2 separate regions of the Homo sapiens genome follow, and region 1 is linked to region 2. The links are contacts of gene promoters, found by promoter capture Hi-C in blood cells and fetal thymus (Javierre and others, 2016). All regions are on one chromosome and are shown on one strand. Each heading gives the region's core, a stretch centred on a gene start or on the middle of the fragment in contact. The rest is flanking DNA. Distances are from core to core; before and after follow the strand shown.

Evidence for each region. Contacts are between HindIII fragments. The CHiCAGO score rates a contact against its expected background, and 5 or more counts as called.
Region 1: a fragment that was not itself captured here is called in contact with the fragment with the promoter of EGF in region 2 in 1 of 17 cell types (erythroblasts); the score reaches 5.4 in erythroblasts.

What each region holds. Positions count from the first base shown.
Region 1 is chr4:110,524,988-110,530,211 of GRCh38, forward strand. The region is part of intron 10 of ENPEP (glutamyl aminopeptidase); the gene reads left to right. Among named protein-coding and RNA genes, the nearest start is that of ENPEP, 51 kb to the left of the region's middle. The HindIII fragment of the contact is 6,028 bases long and covers 796-5,224 here.
Region 2 is chr4:109,910,348-109,915,161 of GRCh38, forward strand. It overlaps EGF (epidermal growth factor), which reads left to right and starts at 2,536. Exons shown (of 24, transcript NM_001963.6): 1 at 2,536-3,115. The coding sequence starts at 2,989. The HindIII fragment of the contact is 2,188 bases long and covers 1,198-3,385 here.

The sequences.
Region 1 (5,224 bases), core at 2,560-5,059, 620 kb after region 2:
GCGATCCTCCTGCCTTGGCCTCTCAAAGTGTTAGGATTACAAGTGTGAGCCATCGCAGATGACCTCAAATTTTAAAAAATGTTTTATATATTGTAAAGGCTGATAAAGCATGCAAAGCACAGCTGAGGATTTCAAAACTTATCACACCTGCATGAATACAACTTGCACAAAAATCTTAATACTATAAACATTTCTGCATAACTAAATCGTTATTTTTGTATGTATTTCTTGGGTGCCAGCTGCTCCCATCTGAAGGAAACAAATTCAAAATCTCAGGAACTCCAGTCCCGGGCCTGGCCCCAGGAGCTGGGATGTACCACTCTGGGGACATCTTCCTAGCCCGGGTTACCCAGCTGAGCCCCTCCTAGAGTGGATACTGGCAGCGTAGCACATCACTAGTCCTCTGGACGTTGTTCCCATTTCACCCATGCCCAGTTTTTATTGCCCCCTCTTTCAACATTTGAATGCTTTGCTTGAGCAGAGAGAATCTTCACCCGTTCCCACCCACGTGTCCTCTAATCTCCACTGCCTGATTGTCACTGAAGAGACACTTTGTCTTCTTTTTCTCCTTAATGACTTCATTGACATTATTTTATAGTCACATATATAAATTATTGTAAGATCAATTATCTTGTAGCAATTAGAATAACACAAAAAGATGTTTTAGAAAGTCTTTAACTCTAAACTGGTTCCTTTATAGTTACTGGTCTATGTTCTAGCAAATTAGGTTGGCCAACTCTAATAACCACTGGAATATTTGGATATTAAATCTAAAAATATGTCTCTTGTCAAACAAGCTTCCATTTGGAAAGTTTCACAGTAATTATTCTCTCTTACTATATGAGTCCACTGATTTGCTGAGCCTCAATTAATTGGGAGAGGGAAGCAGGAGGTGGAGTAGGGCAGGGAGGGTCACAGAAGGCTTTCTTTTCCAGGGATGTGATATTTAAGGTGAGCAAATTGGTGTGGGGAAGTGACTTCTCTGGATGTTCAAAATAGAAACTATGGCCGGGCGTGGTGGTTCATGCCTGTAAGCCCAGCACTTTGGGAGGCCTAGGTGGGTGGATCACTTGAGGTCAGGAGTTTGAGACCAGCCTGGCCAACATGATGAAACCCCATCTCTACTGAAAATACAAAAATTAGCCGGGCATGGTAGCACACACCTGTAATCCCAGCTACTCGGGAGGCTGAGGCAGGAGACTCGCTTGAACCTGGGAGGCAGAGGCTGCAGTGAGCCAAGATCATGCTACTGCACTCCAGCCTGGGTGATAGAGTGAGACTCTGTCTGAAAAAAACAGAACAAACCCCCCGCCCCAAAACAGAAATTACAGCGTATATGAAAGCCCAAAGTCTTATACACATGATTTACAACACTTATTGAACATTGACCAAGTGGTTGGCACTATTTTAAGCACTTCAGATGCATTTTATTTTATAGTAAATGAGGAATTTGTGGTAAAAGTGATTAAGTAATTTCAAGGTCACACAGTGTAAATAATGGAGGCTTGATGTAAACCCAGGCAGTCTGGTTCCAAGAAACGGGATAGCAGAGAGTGACTGGGAAAAGTGGTGTGAGGTGAAGACGAAGAGGAAGGCAGGAACCAGGTATGCAGACCATGTTAAAGATTTTGAAAATAGTATGCAAATTTAAGGATTTTAAGGAGAGAATTGGCAGGGTCACATTTACATTTTTCAAAGCTCTCCTCTTGCTGCACTGTGGAGAACTGATCACAGATCCTGGGCAGTTGGGGAGGAGTGGAGGCAGGGAGACCAGTTAGGACAATATTGCAATGAGCAGCCCACGTGATAGTTGATGGAAACAATAAGCCTGGGCTAGGTAGGAGTGGCTGTGGGCTGGAGGGCATGGCAGATGTTCCAAAGATTTTATTGAGCTAAAATTCCTAATTAAAGAACAATGTGGAAGGAATTCAATCAGGTGAATTGGCGGAGAACAATCTCCTTTTAGAATATTGTTCTCATCTTGCACCACAGTGATCGTAGCCATATTTATTCAGAAGAGAAAGATCTTTATAGTCTCATTTCATGATGGGTACTCTATAAGGGGGGTAACAGAGCCTGTTTCCTGGATTACAATTCAGGGCTTGGGGAAATAAGTCACACTACAGCACACTCAGGTGTTTCCAAAAATTAAAATTGCCGAAGCACTTGACTTTCCAAGGCATCAGAGAATGATGAACTCTCAGAATTATTAAATTAGCTGCTTCCAAGATGCCAGTTGACACCTGAACTGGAGAAGCATTGAGAAAGCCGTTGTACTCAACTCGTTGAGGCTCATTTCCGGCCTCTCTTCCTGGAAACCTCAGACACCCAGCCTCCCACACTAAGTGACATTCAGAGAAACTGGGTATCCTGCTATAATGCGAGTTCTGAAAATCAATAGGTCACACCACAACAAAGGAAAATTTGACTACTTAGACCAATATGAGGTCCCTTCAGGGAGTGTCTGTATACTCCCTGAACTCTGCAGGTAAGTGTACTCCTTACCTTTATTTTAGAAAGGAAAGATTAGATGATGATGGAGAAAACATTTGTTTTTCACTTTTTCCTCTTCATGATACATGAATTGAAACATAGATCTGACTTGTTTTCAGGTGATAATTCAACTACGAAAATCATAGAATAATCTCTGTGGTAGTTCTGCTAACAACTATAAAGTGTTTCTTTTATAGTTACTGTTTTGTGTTCTAGCAAATTAGATTAACTATTTAATACTGCTGGAGCCTCTGGATATTAAAATTTAAAAAGTATTTCTCTCTTGAGAAATAAACTTACACTGGGAAAATTTCCCAGTAACTGTTACTTCCTCTCATATGTATCCATTAATTTGTTAAGCCAAAGACAGTCAACAATTTAAGCCAAAGACAGTCAACAATTTAAACTAAGGAGTTTTTTTAATTAATGGGGTTGGATTTTTACAAGCTGCTTGTTGGTTATGAATTTCTCTTCACACAAACCAAACAATTTTACTGCCAAGTGAACTAAATATATCATCACGGTATAAAATCAATTTTTGTAACAGTAAATTTTAAAATTTTATTCACCAAGACTTAGAACATAGAACTGTATTCACATTTATACTGTCTTTAATATTTGTCTTCAGTTTCCACCTTCAGATACTATTTTCATTTTATTTATATTCTTAGTTGCATGAATTTTTTTGTGATGGCTTATCATAAAGTTAATATGTTCATTCTATTTTTATTTTTTAAGAAGTCATATATGCATAGGAAAAGAGACTTAGAAAAGAGGTTCTTCTCTGTTGAGAAAGTTTGTTAAAAATCCGTAGTAGCTCCTGAACAAATAAGAAAGAACCATTATAGCAAAAGGATTCTTCTTTGTTTAAAAGAAGAATTTGATCATAATAAATGCCTTCATGCACCCATAAAGGAATTAGCTTTTTTTCCAATCCTAACTTCCATCTACTTTCTGTTCAGATGTGTTCCTGTTTGGTAGACAGTGTGGCCAGTTAAGTTGTACTGTGAGTTCAATGATCTTCTATAAATATTTTCTCACTGTTTAAATAATCCAAGATTAGGGAATTCTTACTGACTAGAACCTTTTTATAATTCAAATGGCTCACCCATGTATAAGTTATTGCTTTAACACCATGTCCTCAACCATCTCTTAGAAATGAGCCAGTTTCACATCTCCATCCCGGGATGTCTCTCTCAGGAAAGCATATGTGCCTTTGATAGTCCACTCCATGTAAACAGGCAGAGGGAATGGGAGTAAGTGTGTCAGCTTGGTGCAATCAAAGTCAGTTTCCTTAGAGAAAATTAGAGTGGCCATATTTCATACTGCTAGAACCTCTTACATGGTTAGATAGTGAAGAACTATGTCTATAAAAATGAATCCTGATACTCCTGAATGTTAGCCAATATGTAGAAAACTCAATCGTTTCATTTATGTAATTTCCATTTCTTCACATTTTATACTCTCAAGTCTGTGATTTTACTCAGCTTAGATTACATTAGATCATGTGATTCTAAAACTATAAAATTGTATAGCCTCAACTTTCTATCATTTTTATCTTATGATACTCTTAAAGACCTCAGAGCAGTATTTTTGTACATGAGATTAGGAGAACAGCTTCTGCCCTTTTGAGGCCTGGTGTAGTCCCAGAGGCCATGTTTTAGAGAGGATAGTCAAAATAGGAAACCTTAACTGTGGGCCTAGGTCATCCAGACGCTGCCTGCTCTGTTGTTTCAGTCAGATTGGCATTGGGGAAAGAAGAGGAAGCATAAAATGTGAGTTTACATGGCAGCACCAATTCAGCAGACCAGTGCAAGTGAGGTATATAGGTAAGATGTGGCATCTTAGGAATGTTCTTTGTCGGTCTTCTGAGAAGCTGCAAGGGCTCTTAGTTTGGTGTCCCTAGAAGCAGACCCCGAAATGATCATGTGTGTGAAAGTGACTTGTTAGAAAGTGTTTCCAGGAAAGATCAGTGGGGGAGCAGGCAGTGGGATAGAGAAGGAAAGGAAGCCCAGCAAAGGTGCTGTATGAAGCAGGTCCTGAAGAGAGTAACTTTGACTTAGTCCTGCAGGAAAGTCCTGGAGCCAGTGCAGATCATACTTCAGAGTGCTCCTGATGGATGGGGCAGGAAGCATTCTCACACCTGTCACTCACTGTTAAGGGCCACATCCAGAAGGACGTAAATTCCCAGGAACTTCTGGCTTTCCTTGCTCAGGTAGCTGGAAGGCAGTCCTCTGTCAGAGAGACCCAGGTATTGATTGTAGGCAGGGAAAGCACACTGGTATCCAAGGTGTACAAAAATGACAAAGGGGGCCGGGCACAGTGGCTTATGCCTGTAATCCCAGCACTTTGGGAGGCCGAGGCAGGTGGATCACCTGAGGTCAGGAGTTCGAGACCAACCTGGCCAACATAGTGAAACCCCGTCTCTACTAAAAATACAAAAAAATTGGTTGGGTGTGGTGGCAGGTGCCTGTAATCCCAGCTACTTGGGAGGCTTAGGCAGGAGAATCACTTGAACCTGGTAGGCGGAGGTTGCAGTGAGCCGAGTCCGTGCCATTGCACTCCAGCCTGGGCAACAAGAATGAAACTCCGTCTAAAAAGAAAAAAAAAGAGAGAAAGGGGTCTAAGGAGATAAGGAGGAAGCACTGACAGTGTCCACTATAAGGCCCAAGAAGCAATTTATGTGTTGGTTTTATGAAACGTATAGCCAAAAACATTCCACTGCAGTAAA
Region 2 (4,814 bases), core at 1,286-3,785:
GTTCCACATCCTGTCAGCATGACCCTTCTCCTTCTCTATGTCCTTCTGAGGCATCCTAATTACTCCACAGAGCTTCACACTGCATGCTGTAGTCCAAAGTACATTGCAGCTCCCCTCCTTCTTTCCTGACACCCAGTTTGTGACCAGTCATGTACTTGGTGGCTGGTCATTCATTAGCTCATACTCATACTCTCTGTTGTTGCTGTTAATCAACCTCAGCAAGCTCTTGATGTTAAGGACTACGACTTCTGTTTCTTGTACTCCAGGCAGTGCTCTATCATATATAGCTGTTTAATTAACGAATGAATTAGTTAACTTTAACTCAATTCCAGAAATTAAATCATATTTGGCAGCTCAAACCTATAAGTTATAGTGCATTTCTTATCAATTTTAAAATAAAGAGTTTATTTCAACCTTTCTTGAGTGCAAGAAAGGTTCAGTTTTATCCAGAAGTAGGAACATAAACTTATTATTTATTTATTTATTTATTTTTTTGAGATAGAGTCTTGCTCTGTCACCCAGGCTGGAGTGCAGTGGCGTGTTATCGGCTCACTGCAACCTCCGCCTCCTGGGTTCAAGCAATTCTCCTGCCTCAGCCTCATGAGTAGCTGGGACTATAGGCATGTGCCACCACGCCTGGCTAACTTTTTGTATTTTTAGTAGAGATGGGGTTTCACCGTGTTAGCCAGGATGGTCTAGATCTCCTGAAGTGTGATCTGCCCACCTTGGCCTCCCAAAGTGCTGGGATTACAGGCATGAGCCACCACGCCCGGCTGGAATATAAACTTATTAAATATCTCTGTAAATCCTTCCCAGTTGGGTAGCTCTGTCCTATGATTTTGCTATCTGGGCAACTGTAGATGATGAATTAGCTGCGATTGATTTTCATCATCAGTCATCAGCCATAGCATCTGCTATACCTCTGTTGACTCCGTCATCTCCTAGGGAGCTTGTACTCAACATTAATGACAACATTAGCCCAGGTGACATGTAATTAAGAAAGCAAACCTTTTTCCAACCAAAAATAATATGAGAGATTCCAAATCCAAACAGAACAGAGCTGTGGATCATTTCATGTTTGTCTTCATATCATTCTCTCCACTCCACTCCACTGACACAGCGTGATGCTTGATTGTCCTCTAAGCCCCTTCCATTGCTGTCATCTGGGATGCTGGCAATGTATTGTGCTGAAAGGGAAGCTTATTAATAAAGTTAGTAACTCGAAGAGTCAGTGCAGGTTATTTGTAGGATGCTCATTATGAGTCTTGAGTCTGACTCAGTCCAGAAAGCAATGGAATATTCCGCATAACCACCTAAAGGACTTCTCTTTCCCCCTTCCCCAGGGTCTGTTTCTCCTGTAAGGGTTCAGAGCTGCCTGGCAGAGGCTGGCTGAAATAGGAGAAATCCTGACTTAAGCTGTTTCAGGAAAGTGATCCAGTCTTTGGAGAATAATCAGGACATAATTAAGTATGAGTAAAAGGCTTAGAGTTAGTCTGTTCTCCTCTGTAATGGGGTGTTCACTAGTGTGACAGTTGTTTTTGTGACTATTGCTTTTACGTACATTTTTGACCAGCACTTGGAACACTACCTCAGGGTAACTTAAATGAAAGTCCATTTTCCAGGATGGAGTAAACTGACAGAAATTTCCATCGTGCATCAAATCTGCTATAAGTTGTTTGCCTTCTGGGTATTTTTGGGCCCTAGTTGTACTCCTGAAGAAATAACCACTGTTGCTCCAAGTAGAAAGTGGTTGAGGAGACAGCTAACAGATACGTCCAGTTCTTATTTTCTATCACAGAGATGTGAAAAAAAAAAAGCCTAAATTATCTTAGAAGGAAAAGCATTCCTCTGTGCTGGATTTCCAGTGCTTCCCAGCTTTGCACTGTTAGCTTATTTTTTCCAATGTCCCTATAATAACAATCCACTCCTTTCTCTGCACTCCTGGCCCCTCGTGATGTTTTATCATGCTCATGCTGAAAGAAAAGGTGTCTGTCCATACTGTATCTCTTCATTTGGCCTCAGGGATTTCCCTTTGATTTGGAAAGAATAATCTTTCAAATTCCGCTATAAACTATACAGGAGAAAGAGAAAAATAAGATAAAGCTCCTGGAATGTGCACTGGTATTGACATTTCGTTCAAATAATGGGCTGAAGGTGAACTATCTTTACTATTGCTCATGTGAATGATCAATTATTATCAATCCAAACTATCAACAGTGCTGCTTATTATTGATTTATACTGCATGGTTTAATTTTGTCTCCATCCTTCCAGACATTAAAACATAGCCAATATTTAGCAGTTCCCGCCATTCACCATGAGCACCTCCACAGCCCCCAACTCCTCTCTCCCAGTTCTGCCCAGGATATTTATGGTGAGTAGCGAGTTATCTCCTCTTTGGCAGTCATCCCTGCTTTCCTGTGTGGAGGAATTGCCCACATTCGCATTTGCAAACAGAGGCTCACTCAAGTGTCACTAAAGGAAAGGAGGTGGAGCCTGAAGAGCTTTAAAAAGCAAAGCTGAGTCATTCCACTTTTCAAAAAGAGAAACTGTTGGGAGAGGAATCGTATCTCCATATTTCTTCTTTCAGCCCCAATCCAAGGGTTGTAGCTGGAACTTTCCATCAGTTCTTCCTTTCTTTTTCCTCTCTAAGCCTTTGCCTTGCTCTGTCACAGTGAAGTCAGCCAGAGCAGGGCTGTTAAACTCTGTGAAATTTGTCATAAGGGTGTCAGGTATTTCTTACTGGCTTCCAAAGAAACATAGATAAAGAAATCTTTCCTGTGGCTTCCCTTGGCAGGCTGCATTCAGAAGGTCTCTCAGTTGAAGAAAGAGCTTGGAGGACAACAGCACAACAGGAGAGTAAAAGATGCCCCAGGGCTGAGGCCTCCGCTCAGGCAGCCGCATCTGGGGTCAATCATACTCACCTTGCCCGGGCCATGCTCCAGCAAAATCAAGCTGTTTTCTTTTGAAAGTTCAAACTCATCAAGATTATGCTGCTCACTCTTATCATTCTGTTGCCAGTAGTTTCAAAATTTAGTTTTGTTAGTCTCTCAGCACCGCAGCACTGGAGCTGTCCTGAAGGTACTCTCGCAGGAAATGGGAATTCTACTTGTGTGGGTAAGTACTCCAATGAAAAGGTGCTCCAGGTCTCCGGGAAACTGCCCCCACATCCCTGTTGGTTCAATCTGGTATACTTGGGCATTTAACAAAGTTTGTCTTTGGGTATGTATAGTTGCTTAATTTTTGTTTTCTGATGCATGTTTATTTTCTTACTGGCCATTAGAGCTAATCTGCTACCAACTATAAAACTTCATAACTCTCAAACTGTACTTCTGTGTATAAGTGAATGAATATGCCTCATTTTAAACTAGCAGAACATTTCATGGAAGCTTCAGCTTTTACTCTGACAAGAGGAGTAATTAACACCTGGCTAATTGCTTGGAAATTAGGGAAACAGATGGTTGATTTTTTGTTTGTCTGTTTGAAACTCTTAAGCCACAAAGAAAAAAATCCTTCCTTCTGATAACTTGTAAGAATTCAGAAGTTCTAAAAATTAGTGAAAAATGGAAAGGGAACTGTGAACAAAGGTAGTTGTGAAAATTAACCTAAATTTCAATTTCAACCTCCTTCACTTTCTCCCCACTCTTACTGTTTCTGAGGCTCTGACACAACTCCGGAGTTTTAGTAACAGGTGCATTGCAACTTTAAGAACTGCCAAATATGATAATGGGTAAATAAGCCACACTGTCCTCTCATATTAAATGAATTTTTTGCCAAGGGGAAATGGGAGCTTGACTGAATGCGAATTACAATCCTGCCAAAGGATATTGCCTGAAAAACATTCTCTCTCTAACTGTTAATTCATTTATTTAATCCTTGGGTGAGCCTCCAACCTGCTGCTTAGACACGGCAGCCGCCTTTGTTGATGAGAGGTTATAGCTGCCCCGACATTCCATTTTTATCAGCTTGCCCTTTTGAGATGGCGTCTGGCTTTTAAAAAGAGGTAGATTGAGGGGGAAAACACAGTACAGTTTCCAGAAGAGACACCTATGGAAGACAGTACACAATAGGCAATAGTTTGAATAAAGAGAGCAGAATGGAGCCAAACTGCCAAAGCTAGGCTGCTGTCCTGGCTCTCCCATTAAGGAAGTTCCCGATGAGGAAATCAGGTGCTTTTGCTCAGAATCTCTGGACTCTGTTCTCAGGTAGCACTCCTTGTAACAGGTGAGCAGAACTCTAGGGTATTTGAAATAAAGACTTAATCCTAGTGATCTCTATGTTCCCAGCACCTAGGACATTCCTGCTTCCACAGTGTGTACTCAGCAAATTCTTGTGTATGAATGAGGCGTCTTTCTCTGATCTGCTAATGACATAGTCCTAGAGAACAGCAACAAAAAGAGGGTGACAAATGACAAAAATGGCCCCATGAACCTCAGACTCAGCTGTTGGAGACAGAAGTAAAACTTCTGTATACAGTTATGTCAAATGGACTGGACTCTCTTTGGGGTGGGAGAATTTTCCGTGGAGTAGTTGGCAAATATCTAGAGTTGGGCACTGTCATTTGCATGGGATGTGAGGGGTGATGGTTGGGCCGATCTATCAGGCAGCCAGAAGCTAGGAAAGAAGAACCCAGGTTGCTGAAGCAGAACCCAAGAAATTACAAAAATGAGCTTTTATGGATGGCTCTAGGATCTCAGAATAGTCTGATTCCTGCTGGCAAGCAAGTCTATGCCTTGTTTTCCTTGCCACCTCTGGTGGCTCAGAAGTGCCTTCATTGAGGTAGGTTGTACCCAATAAACATGAAACCCAGGATAGA